3 separate regions of the Homo sapiens genome follow, and all the other regions are linked to region 3. Evidence: promoter capture Hi-C in 16 types of primary human blood cells and fetal thymus (Javierre and others, 2016). All regions are on one chromosome and are shown on one strand. The core of a region is centred on a gene start or on the middle of the fragment in contact, and the rest is flanking DNA. Distances in the headings are between cores, read along the strand shown. Region 1 has its middle 7.8 kb from the start of CLEC4A. Region 2 overlaps A2ML1 (alpha-2-macroglobulin like 1). Region 3 holds the start of CLEC6A (C-type lectin domain containing 6A).

What was found. The method cuts DNA at HindIII sites, captures the fragments that hold promoters and counts their contacts. A CHiCAGO score of 5 or more calls a contact.
Region 1: a contact is called between a fragment that was not itself captured here and the fragment with the promoter of CLEC6A in region 3, in 1 of 17 cell types (erythroblasts). The highest score is 5.6, in erythroblasts.
Region 2: a contact is called between a fragment that was not itself captured here and the fragment with the promoter of CLEC6A in region 3, in 1 of 17 cell types (neutrophils). The highest score is 7.1, in neutrophils.

What each region holds. Positions count from the first base shown.
Region 1 is chr12:8,113,804-8,117,922 of GRCh38, reverse strand. It overlaps a transcript of CLEC4A not described here. Among named protein-coding and RNA genes, the nearest start is that of CLEC4A, 7.8 kb to the left of the region's middle. The HindIII fragment of the contact is 1,807 bases long and covers 959-2,765 here.
Region 2 is chr12:8,864,253-8,868,127 of GRCh38, reverse strand. It overlaps A2ML1 (alpha-2-macroglobulin like 1), which reads right to left. Exons shown (of 36, transcript NM_144670.6): 30 at 71-286. Among named protein-coding and RNA genes, the nearest start is that of A2ML1-AS1, 35 kb to the right of the region's middle. The HindIII fragment of the contact is 6,008 bases long and covers 1-3,875 here.
Region 3 is chr12:8,454,683-8,458,612 of GRCh38, reverse strand. It overlaps CLEC6A (C-type lectin domain containing 6A), which reads right to left and starts at 2,651. Exons shown (of 6, transcript NM_001007033.2): 1 at 2,471-2,651; 2 at 626-715. The coding sequence starts at 2,501. The HindIII fragment of the contact is 4,980 bases long and covers 2,070-3,930 here.

The DNA of each region.
Region 1 (4,119 bases), core at 613-3,112, 340 kb after region 3:
GTAAATCAATTGAGACCTGCCTCAGTCACTTTTTGGTTTACGCAAGTAATGGTTGTCATTCTTTTTGGCATCTAATTCTCCTTATGTTTGAAGAATATTCCCACTTTATGAAACAGAGCTCTTCATATTCTACAACAGCTGCAAATCCAGGCATTTGCTTTCAGAAATTGTACCATAAATACTTGAAAGCTATAGAAGTGAAATAGAGGAAACTTGAGATTTATTATCCAATCTGGTTGAAGCTGAGAAAAGAGAAAGCACGACTAGTATTAACAGATGGGACTTGGTAGTCCTTGCCATGCAATGACAAAATAGGCAAATTGAAACACATTGTCACCTAAAAAAAAAGTTCCCATTGGAGACAAGCCTTTAAGAGCCCAAGCAGGCTGGGTGCGGTGGCTCACACCTGTAATCCCAGCACCTTGGGAGGCCAAGGCAGGTGGATCACCTGAGGTCAGGAATTTGAGACCAGCATGGCTAACTTGGTGAAATCCCATCTCTACTAAAAATACAAAAATTAGCCAGGTGTGGTGATGAGCACCTGTAATCCCAGTTACTCAAGAGGCTGAAGCAGGAGAATCACTTGAACCCAGGAGGCAGAGGTTGCAGTGAGCCGAGATCGTGCCACTGCACTCCAGCCTGCGCAACAGAGAGATTCCACTTCAAAAAAAACAAAAACAAAAAAAAAAAGAAGAGCCCAAGCAACCCCAAGGGAAAGAATTTAAGAAGTGTAGAGTAGAATAGTTGCTTCTTATGGCACTGGATAACCCAAAGGAAGAGAGTAACAAACTCAATATATCCTAAATTCTTGACCCAAGGAAAAAACTGAAAACTAGAATTTCTATAACTATATTAAAAGAATTCTTTATTGCTTGTAGCTGCAGGCTGAAGAGACCAAAAGCCAAAGTTTTAGTTGGACTCGATGGTTAAAAATTGCAAATCCAGTTGAATTCAAGCTTTGCTATGTCTCCTAAGTGAAAACGAGAGGCTTGATTGTGATAAAATGTGATCTCAAGAACTGATAAAGAAATATATGGAGGATACCCATATATTGCCCAAAGCATCACAAACACTCCAAGTCCAAGAAGTTTCCTATCCCCACAAAAGCAGCAGGTATAGTGAGAGCCTGAAGTCACCCTCCGGTTATTTCCCAAATTCCTGTTGTCCAGAATCCCCACACTGTCTCCCTGACCTGTGAAGTAAGGTCCATTATGATGGAAAACCAAATTGAAGCTCCTGAACTTCCCCTTCCTAGCAAAATAAAATCAAAAGCAGTAAAGCATCTATAATGAAATCACAAAGATTAGTACCACTAGCAAAGGATTCAAAACTGAAGCATAAGCAATTCCTATTATATTCTTGATTTAAATCACTCATCTTGCCAATACAGATGGGTCATAAACAATGGGAGTAGATGATCATACATTTAATCAGGAGGTGACTCCAATTTTAGCTGCTTTCCAAATGCGAGGTCTAGAGCAAGTCAATACAGTACTCGGCCCTTAATGTATACCTATTAACGGCCAGGTACGATGACTCACGCCTGAAATCCTCACACTTTGGGAAGCCAAGGCAGAAGGATCGCTTGAGTCCAGATCTTTGAGACCAGCCTGGGCAACATAGTGAAACCCCACTTCTACAAAAATAAAAAATAAAAATTAGACCGGGTGCGGTGGCTCACACCTGTAATCCTAGCACTCTGGGAGGCCGAGACAGGTGGGTCATTTGAGGTCAGGAGTTCAAGACCAGCCTGTCCAACATGGTGAAATCCTGTCTCTACTAAAAATACAAAAATTAGCCAGGCAGTAGTGGTGCACACCTGTAATCCCAGCTACTTGGGAGGCTGAGGCAGAAGAATCGCTTGAGCCTGGGAGGCAGAGGTTGTGGTAAGCCGAGATCACACCTGCACTCCGGTCTGGGTGACAGAGTGAGACCCTGTCTCAAAAAATATATATATAGATTAAAAATTAGCCAGGCATGGTAGCACACACCTATAGTCCCAGCTTCTTAGGAGGCTGAGGTGGGAGGATCACTTGAGCCCAGGAGGTTGAGGCTGCAGTGAGTTGTGATCGTGTCACTGCACTCCAGCCTGGACAACAGGGCAAGACTCTGTCTAGAAAAAATTAAATATATATATATGACATATATGTATATTATCTGGTGGATATTATTTCTTCCAGTTAATAAATAAGCAAAAAAATCATCATCAAATTGCTTTTCTCCTGGCAGAAACAATATACCTTCATCATCTTCAGACCTATATAACTCTTCAGATCTATATAACTCTTTCAATCTGGCCTACCATTTACCCTGCAGAAAACTTAAACATCTCACCGTTTTACAAGATATCCTGCTGGTTCACTCCATTGATGATATCCTACAGATGCTACAAGGAAAGCAGGACAATACAGTACCCTAGATGCCTTGGTAAGCCTCATGCCATTGAAGTCCTGGTCTATCAGGCAGTGGTTCTCAGTGTGGTCCTAAACCAACAACATCACCTGGGAACTTGTTAGAAATGCATATTCTTAGGCTCCACCTTAGATGTACTAAATCCATAATTTTGAGAATGGGGCCCAAAAATTGGTGTTTTAACCAGCCCTTCAGTTGATTCTGATTGATGTCTGGGGCACTTAAATATCCCCTCCAAAATATCAAATAATGTGCCATTTTGAAAGGCAGGATTCATAGGCCTCTTTGGATTTTTAAGGCAATATATTTCACATTTGGGTGTTCAAACATATTTGCCAGAAAATCGAAAAGCTTCCAGGATTTGGTGACATACTGAAAAGGCTGTTCAGGTGGTCCAGGCCACAGGTAGACAGACAGTCTGCACTTAGCCCTAATAAACTAGCGGTGCTTGAACCCTCTTTGGCAAATCCATGCAGATTGGAGCCTAAAGCAAACCAACCTGGAGATTGGTAGGAGAATTCAAAGGAGGCCAGTAGGATAGTTCAGAGGAAATCATTCCCTCTCAGCGAGTAATTGGTCTATTCTTGAGAAATGCTATTGGGTCCTCAGTGAATCAGAATATAGCAACATGGGACAACAGGTAAAGATGCAACTTGAGGTAACCTTCATGAGCTGAGAGTCATCTAACTGGAGTAGAAAATCATTAGATGCAGTAATGGCTAAGGGTTTGGATTTAAATACACAAAAAAATGAGGAAACAAAGCCTTGGACAAGCACTAAGCAGGGAGCTGGAATTGAGACTTCCATATAATTCATAATTTTTGCAAAACTGTAAATTAAGCAAAAGGTAAACTAGAAAGAGTTCAGCAGTAATACCTCTCCCTGGGCTTTGGGTGAAAAAAGAAAAATTCGTAGGAAAGTACAAGGTGAGTCTACAATATTTTGTTCCATCAGAAATAAAGGAATTGGCCGGGCGCGGTGGCTCACGCCTGTAATCCCAGCACTTTGGGAGGCTGAGGCGGGTGGATCACGAGGTCAGGAGATTGAGACCATCCTGGCTAACACGGTGAAACCCCGTCTCTACTAAAACTACAAAAAATTAGCCGGGCGTGGTGGCGGGCGCCTGTGGTCCCAGCTACTCGGGAGGCTGAGGCAGGAGAATGGCGTGAACCCGGGAGGCAGAGCTTGCAGTGAGCCGAGATCACGCCACTGCACTCCAGCCTGGGCGACAGAGCAAGACTCCATCTCAGAAAAAAAAAAGAAATAAAGGAATTGCTCAAACATTAATGCAAGTACGTCAAAAAGCAACAAATTAGCTTGAAGGCTACTAGCCAATTTTAGGGCAATTTGAGCACCGTATGGACTCCTCTTTTGTAGGTATCATATCTTCACCTTTTACTTCAGCTCTTGCTACAGAAACCAGCCTCGGGCAAGTGCAACCTGATAACACCTTGCCTCAGCCAACCATGAATCTCTTGCTTTCCGTCCCAGGGATCCTCTGACATTACAAGTACGAATGCCCCCTGTACAGAACAAACCTGAAACTGTGCAGGTGCCAACACACCATGAGGAAACCCTGATCCAATGATGGAAGGAAGCTAGTGGATAAATTGTCCCCTCTTTTATCACTTGGGGACACAATTTTAAGGTGCATTCTACACAGCTCCTCAGAGCTCCAGAAGAATGGAGTCTCAGTTGCCCAAAGCA
Region 2 (3,875 bases), core at 379-2,878, 410 kb before region 3:
AGGCCTAAGGGGAAGATGCTCTCCGACTCTCCTTCCCAATGTCCGCTCATTCTCATGGATCTCTACTTACCTGCACATAGACACAGCCCTGGCCTGAGGCCTCCAACGTGTACATTCCAGGGACATTGGGCAGGGTATCCTGCTGAAATACCAATCTGTTAACTGACTGTATGTTGAATGTGCGCTGGAAATTCTCAGTGGATTTTACAACCAGGTTGATCTCCTCAGATGGCATGTAGGCGGTAGTGGCATATTTGGCAAGAGCTTGGAGAGCAACTACAGTATCCTGAGGGAAACAACCAAACGTATACTTACCATTTTGTGAGCCATTGGAATTAACCTTGAACAACTCTATAACCCACACATCTGGTTGTTGTTAGTTGGCTTGGATGATGACTTCTTTAAGTATTTAGAGAACTATACCCACCTCCTCTGGAGAAGCTGGCCTAGAAATCACAGTAGCTTGCTTTTTTTTTTTTTCAGATGGAGTTTTGCTTTTGTTGCCCAGGCTGGAGTGCAATGGCACGATCTCAGCTCATTGCAACCTCCGCTTCCTGGGTTCAAGTGATTCTCCTCCCTAAGCCTCCCAAGTAGCTGGGATTACAGGCGTGTGCCACCACATCCGGCTAATTTTGTATTTTTAGTAGAGAAGGGGTTTCTCCATGTTGGTCAGGCTAGTCTTGAACTCCCAACCTCAGGTGGTCCGGCTGCCTTGGCCTCCCAAAATGCTGGGATGACAGGCATGAGCCACCATACCCAGCCAGTAGCATGCTTTTATAGAAAATCACCATCAACAAGGTACTACTGAACATCCACAGATTACTTGGTTAACCTAATCAATTCATGTTCAGAAACCAACAGTTTCAGAATGAGTTATTGCTAGAAGCAAGTGGATAATTGTTCAGTATATATTTTACAGCTTCCTTATTTGGGGGAGAAACAGTAGTAACTTGATAGCCCTAGAAATTGCAGTCTATGAAGTCATTTAACTGTGTAATGATCTTCTACATGACAGTTGGAAGGAGTATAAGGGACCCTAGGAAAGTCCTTCCCTGCAGGCTGGCTTCTTAGCCATTATACCATGTGACAATCTTTTATTTCTCTGGGAATAAGACAGATAAACTGTCACTAAGTGAGCATGGTACAGTGATATTTGAACTGTTTCATTCTGAAAACATAATTCATATAAATTACAAGGGGAAAGAAAAATGAATGAAGTGTTCAACAAAATTGTTATATCTCACTCGTGTAAAATATCTATTACAAAAAATATCTATTACAAAAAAAAACCCGATTTCTTCATCTCACAAATGAAAAATACATTCTTATTTCGACATTATCACTGTCCTACAAAACAGGAAGACAGGTCACCCACCCTGGTGAAGCTGTGAAGAAGTTCTATCTGTGCAGCTTCACCATCTACAAACAATTTTTGTTTACCTTTTGTGGACTGGAGCCAGGGAGGTTTTTTACTGCTTGAACATATGGAGACAATTCAAAGAAAGGGACCTCACTGTCAGCTGAAAAACCAGTGTGGGTAATATATGATATATGACTTCTTGTGATAGCCAAGGATTTCATTGAAAAAGGATTCTGACATATACCTGTCACTGAGAGTTGTAAACATTTCACCCACTGCTTTCCAAAAATATTATTATATATTATAATTATTCAGGACCGAGCAAGAAGGAGTATTTTGTGATCTTTGGCCAAGAATTTCCCTGAAACAGGGAGGCATAGTACCATATAATTTTTTTAAGTTTCAATTAAGTCATTACCATATTTAAACTTGGTGCTTTTTTTTTTTTTTTTTTTTTTTTTTTGAGATGGAGTCTTGCTCTGTCTCCCAGGCTGGAGTGCAGTGGCGCGATCTTGGCTCACTGCAAGCTCTGCCTCCTGGGTTCACGCCATTCTCCTGCCTCAGCCTCCCGAGTAGCTGGGACTACAGGCGCCCACCACTGTGCCCGGCTAATTTTTTGTATTTTTAGTAGAGATGGGGTTTCACCGTGGTCTCGATCTCCTGACCTCGTGATCCACCTGCCTCGGCCTCCCAAAGTGCTGGGATTACAGGCGTGAGCCACCACACCTGGCCTAAACTTGGTGCTTTTAACATTTTTACCAAACATGCAACCTATTAAAAGATGTTCATTCTTTCAGGTCTGATTTACATGTTATATCTTCAGTGAAATTGGCTAATTTCAACAAATCAGAATATAATCTTCATGAGAACAAGAAATATATTTTCTTAGTTATTTCTGTAGCCTCATCAAAGTGATTTGGACATGGTAGATATTTAATATTTTCAGAATACATAGATTAATGACTACTCTCTTCATTATAATCTAAAATAATTTTTTATGATTTGAGTTTATCATACAATTCTACCCCTCTGTTTTTTCCATACTGCCACACCACTCATTCAATTTCCCAATTTCCCCTTACCCCTAACCTAGATAAAGGAAACAGTCTCCTGATCTCTTCAAGTCCAATGTTTCTCCTCTCTAAATTATCTCACACACCAAGTGGCTGATTAATCTTTCTGAAACAAAGTTAAAATTGTTGTTGTTGTTGTTGTGTTGTTGTTGTTGAGACGGAGTTTTAACTCTTGTTGCCCAGGCTGGAGTGCAATGGCGCCATCTCGGCTCACCGCAACCTCTGCCTCCCGGGTTCAAGCGATTCTCCTGCCTCAGCCTCCCAGGTAGCTGGGATTACAGGCACCCGCCACCACGCCTGGCTAATTTTGTATTTTTAGTAGAGATGGGGTTTCTCCATGTTGGTCAGGCTGGTCTCGAACTCCCGACCTCAGGTGATCCGCCTGCCTCGGCCTCCCAAAGCACTGGGATTACAGGCATGAGCTGCTGTGTCCAGCCTAAAAAATTTTTGTTTGTTGTTGTTTTTGTTTGTTTTTGTTTATTGTTGTTGTTGACACAGAGTGCTGCTTTGTCACTCAGGCTGGAGTGCAGTGGCACGATCTCAGCTCACTGCAACCTCTGCCTTCCGGGTTCAAGCAATTCTTCTGCCTCAGCCTCCCGAGTAGCTGGGACTACAGGAACATGTCACCACATCCAGCTAATTTTTGTATCTTTAGTAGAGATGGGGCCACATCCAGCTAATTTTTGTATTTTAGTAGAGATGGGGTTTCACCATGTTGACCAGGCTGATCTTGAACTCCTGACCTCCAGTGATCCAACCGCCTCAGGCTGCCAAAGTGCTGGGATTATAGGCGTGAGTCACTGTGCCCGGCTAAGACTTTTCTTATCCCTCAAGCTGATATGAGCTTTCTCTCCCATTTTGAAATTCGATATGTTGTACCTTTTGCATGTTTCTTATATTATAAACCAGATCCTCTTTGTAATACATAGACTTTGTCCTCGCTTTTCTTCTAGACTGTAAACTTTTTAGAGTTCAGACTATATCTTATTAGCTTTCTAATACCTGCAATAGCAGAAGAAGGATAGAAGGATATGTGCCCATGAATCTTGGTGTTATCTTTACAGACCCCATAATGGTCTTCCTAGTTTATTAATATGTACATTTAGCCATAATTATATATATCCTACTTGCATGTAAAACATGGACCTCATGATGTTGCTTTTTTTTTTTTTTTTTTTTTGGAGACAGAGTTTCACTCTTGTCACCCAGACTGGAGTGCAATGGCATGATCTCAGCTCACTGCAACCTCTGCCTCCTGGGTTCAAGCGATTCTCCTGTCTCAGCCTCCTAAGTAGCTGGGATTACAGGCACCTGCCATCGCACCTGGCTAATTTTTGTATTTTTAGTAGAGATGGGGTTTCATCATGTTGGCCAGACTGGTCTCGAACTCCTGACCTCAGGTGATCCGCCTGCCTCGGCCTCTCAAAGTGCTGCGATGACAG
Region 3 (3,930 bases), core at 1,402-3,901:
GTCACTTTCACTCCCTCCCAGACTATTCAATACCCATTTTTAATCACCTTATCAATGAATAGAAATCCAAATTGTGAATCGGAGAGGAAAAAGGTCTTTAAGACTTCTCACACAATGAACTTGAGACATGTATTTGGAGGCAAGCAGAACAGGGAAGAAATATTTTATCCTCTTTATCTCCATCATTTCATTTGAATACTTTTTCCTCTCACATTGGAAAGGATCTGCACATGAATCAAAGAATCTAATATAGAATATGACAATTATGACAGCAATTAGAGTTGCACTCCCAATACAAGAGTTTTGTCACCAGGGAACACACAATTACTAGTGAATCCAGTCCTGAAAGATGGTGTCTTAGATGATGGCTACAATGGACAACATGGATATGTGAGGCCATGATTCAGAAAATGCTAATAAAACCAGGTAAAGTACATCTACAAGAATTCAGTTTTCAAAAGATAGAGGGAGAAAAACAAAGGGAAAAGGAGAAATCAAGGAAAGTGTGGCATTCCAAGTAAGAGCTGACGTATTAATGGGGCAAAGGAGAATATATCCTAGGAAACCTGTATGGAATATTCAAGGGAAAGGAAGCAAGGAAAATGCACCTCAGTGAAGAACTTACCTACACAGCTCACAATGAAGCAAGCACTGAGGAGTGCAATGGAAATCCCAGCCACAGACCAGAGTCTCAGGGACAACCAGCCTCTTTTCTCTGTCCAATCAGGAAGACAACAAATGCAGTTACCAGGGGGCCAGGGAGCCAAAATCCCCAGGAAGCTTACAACAATGAACAAACTAGATGAAGAACCTCAGAGCAGTTAAAAACTTAAAGCAAGAAGACAGCTTACAAACTCCCTCAGAATAAATAACCAGGTAGTAGCTCTGTGGTCCAAAAGAATACAGGTAAAACATACACTCAACCAACTGGAATTTCCATGTCTTTATTCTTTCTTCTAAACTATTACATGTTTCCATTGATTTCGTTTCTCAAAACATCACTTTTGTCTCCCATTTCTCATATCTCTGTATTGATATTTGGTTTCTTCAGTATATCCAAGAGATATCTGCACTCCCATGTTTATTGTAGCACTATTCACAGTAGCCAAGATATGAAAGCAACCTAAGTGTCCATCAACAGATGAATGGATAAAGAAAATGTAGTATAATATATACAATGGCATATTATTCCACCATAAAAAAGAATAAAATCCTGCCATTTGCAACAGCACAGATGGAACCAGAGGACATCGTGTTAAGTGAAATGAGCCAGGCACAGAAAGACAAACATTGCATATTCTGACTCATATGTGGGAGTTAAAAAAATTGATCTCATGGAGGTAGTGAATAGAATGGTGGTTACCAGAGGCCAGGAAGGTTAACTGGGAAGAGAAGATAGAGAAGGGTTGTTTCGTACCTACAAAAATACAATTAGCTAGAAGAAATAAAATCTAGTGTCCCTTAGCACAGCAGGATAACTGTAGTTAACTTTTTTTTTTTTTTGACATGGAGTCTCACTCTGTCACCCAGGCTGAAGCACAATGAGGCAATCTTGGCACCCTGCAACCTCCACCTCCTGGGTTCAAGTGATTCTCCTGCCTCAGCCTCCTGAGTGGCTAGGATTACAGGTGCATGCCACCATGCCCAGCTAAGTTTTGTCTTTTTATTAGAGACGGGATTTCACCATGTTGGCCAGGCTGGTCTCTAACTCCTGACCTCAAGTGATCCACCCACCTCAGCCTCCCAAAGTGCTGAGATTACAGGTGTGAGCCACTGAGCCTAACCCAACAATAATTTATTGCATATGTCAAAATAGCTAGAAGAGTAGATTTGGAATGTTCCAAACACAAAGACATGATAAATATTTGAGGTGATGGATAATGTAATTTTCCAGACTTTACCATTACGCATCATATTCTTGTGTCAAAATATGACATGGAGCCCATAAACATGCACAACTATTTTGTATCCATAAAAAATTTTAATAAAAATTTTTTTAAAACATTATTGATGGACATGCAAAGGGTTGAAGCTAAAGTCAAATTTTCATGCATTAAAAATGGGAAGCTTTTCTCTTACAAAAAAATTAGAAAAGCAAGTACAAAAAAACTTAGGGTAATTGGAAAGAGTACTGCTTCCTGGATTTCAAAATTAGTCAAAAGACTTTGAAGAGCAGACATCCAATAATCAGTTATTTCCCTGTTTACCTTCTATCATGTAAATCTTTTCTGTCTCCCTAAACTATCAATAAAATCTGGTACAAACCTCCCAAAAAATATTTGCTTTCTTATTCTTTCAAGTGCTTATGGCTCTGGCTCTGAAGAATTACTCTTTCTTTCAAATTCCTTTGAGTCTACTATATTGGTCCAATCACTAGCTCTTCAATCTGTTCTTTGGCTACTTCTTCTCTCCAGGTGATCTCATTTCACCATACACTTCCACTTTCCTCTGAAACTGAGGAAATACTCACCTGTACTTTGAGGTTGCTGCTCTTGCATCATTATGCAGGCTCCCTGTGTTGAGAAGGTCCAGGAACCTTTTGTACCTCTCTCCCTAAAGATGTTGCCCAGAGACTCAGCTTCATTTAAAGAAGCTAGAGCTCAGGGACAAACTGCTACACACTCTTATAGGACTAAGAGACTTCCAACATTAAGTGTACCTCAAAAGAAGAAGTCACAATTACAACTAAAGTTTCCAGTGATTTCGATACGTGGGGTTAAAAAAAACAAAAGAGGAATTGAGAAACATTGAAAACCATTCATGAGAACTTTGACAAGAATACTTAGATCATTTCTTCAGTTTCTAACATAAAATTTCTCTGTCTGATTCCTATTCATTCTGGCATGCAAAATAGAAAATTTTTTATCTCCTAAAAGACATCTATTTAGAGAACTTGGTTAAATTAAGTGCTCCCTAACTAACCTTTACATTGGCTGCTTATTTTATGCAAGCCTTAATCCATGTGTTGAACAGTGTCCTAGGTAGTAAGCAAAAGTTTGATTGGATGGATATGGTTTAGATATGAAGGGTAACATAGTAAATAACAAAACCCATGAACATTGTTAAGGAATGTGACTGCAAAATGAAACATTCTGAAATCAGTCTGCAAAGGTGATGAAACATTCTTACTGCATCCAGACTAATATTGGGCAGATGTCAGTGATATTTTGTAATCTCCCTGATTAGGCAAAAGGGAGCCTGAAGTGATATAAAATCAGAAACAGGCTTCATGAATTTTATATTGTAGCACAGAAAATATATGATGTTTTCTTGTCCTCATAGATTCTTAGTAGAGACACTGTCCTGAAAACAAAAGGCAGAGAAACAAGAGAAAAAGCAGCAGTTTATCAATGTGTGTTATACCCATCACTCAGGAGAGAACTCAGTTCAAATGTATTTATCTCTTTCATGGCAGTGGCTTACAGGCCTTGCTTAAATAGTATGTTAACAAACAGCCATAAATCTATGGAGTGCTGAGAACGAAAAAAAAAAAAAACTGTTATTTGAGGAATGTGAGTGCCTTGAAACTATCAAGTCCAGAGTGGACTCATGAGAGAGATATGACAGGAGTCATGCCTCACTGCCACCTTGCACGAAATTTACCTCTTGAAGCCATTTGCTATGTAGGTTCTAGACTAACTGAACCCTAAAATTTAACAGTATACAGCTAATTACTAATCAATGTGGTTTCTGTAAACCAATGATAATTTACTGATGAGTAACTTTTTAATTCACTCCCTCTCCTGATTCATTCTTTTTTTAATTTTTATTTTTCCATAAGTTATTGAGGTACAGGTGGTATTTGGTTACATGAGTAAGGTTTTTAGTGGTGATTTGTGAGATTTTTGTGCACCCATCACCCAAGCAGCATACCCTGCACCATATTTGTAATATTTTATCCCTCATCCCCCTCCCACTCTTCCCCCCAAG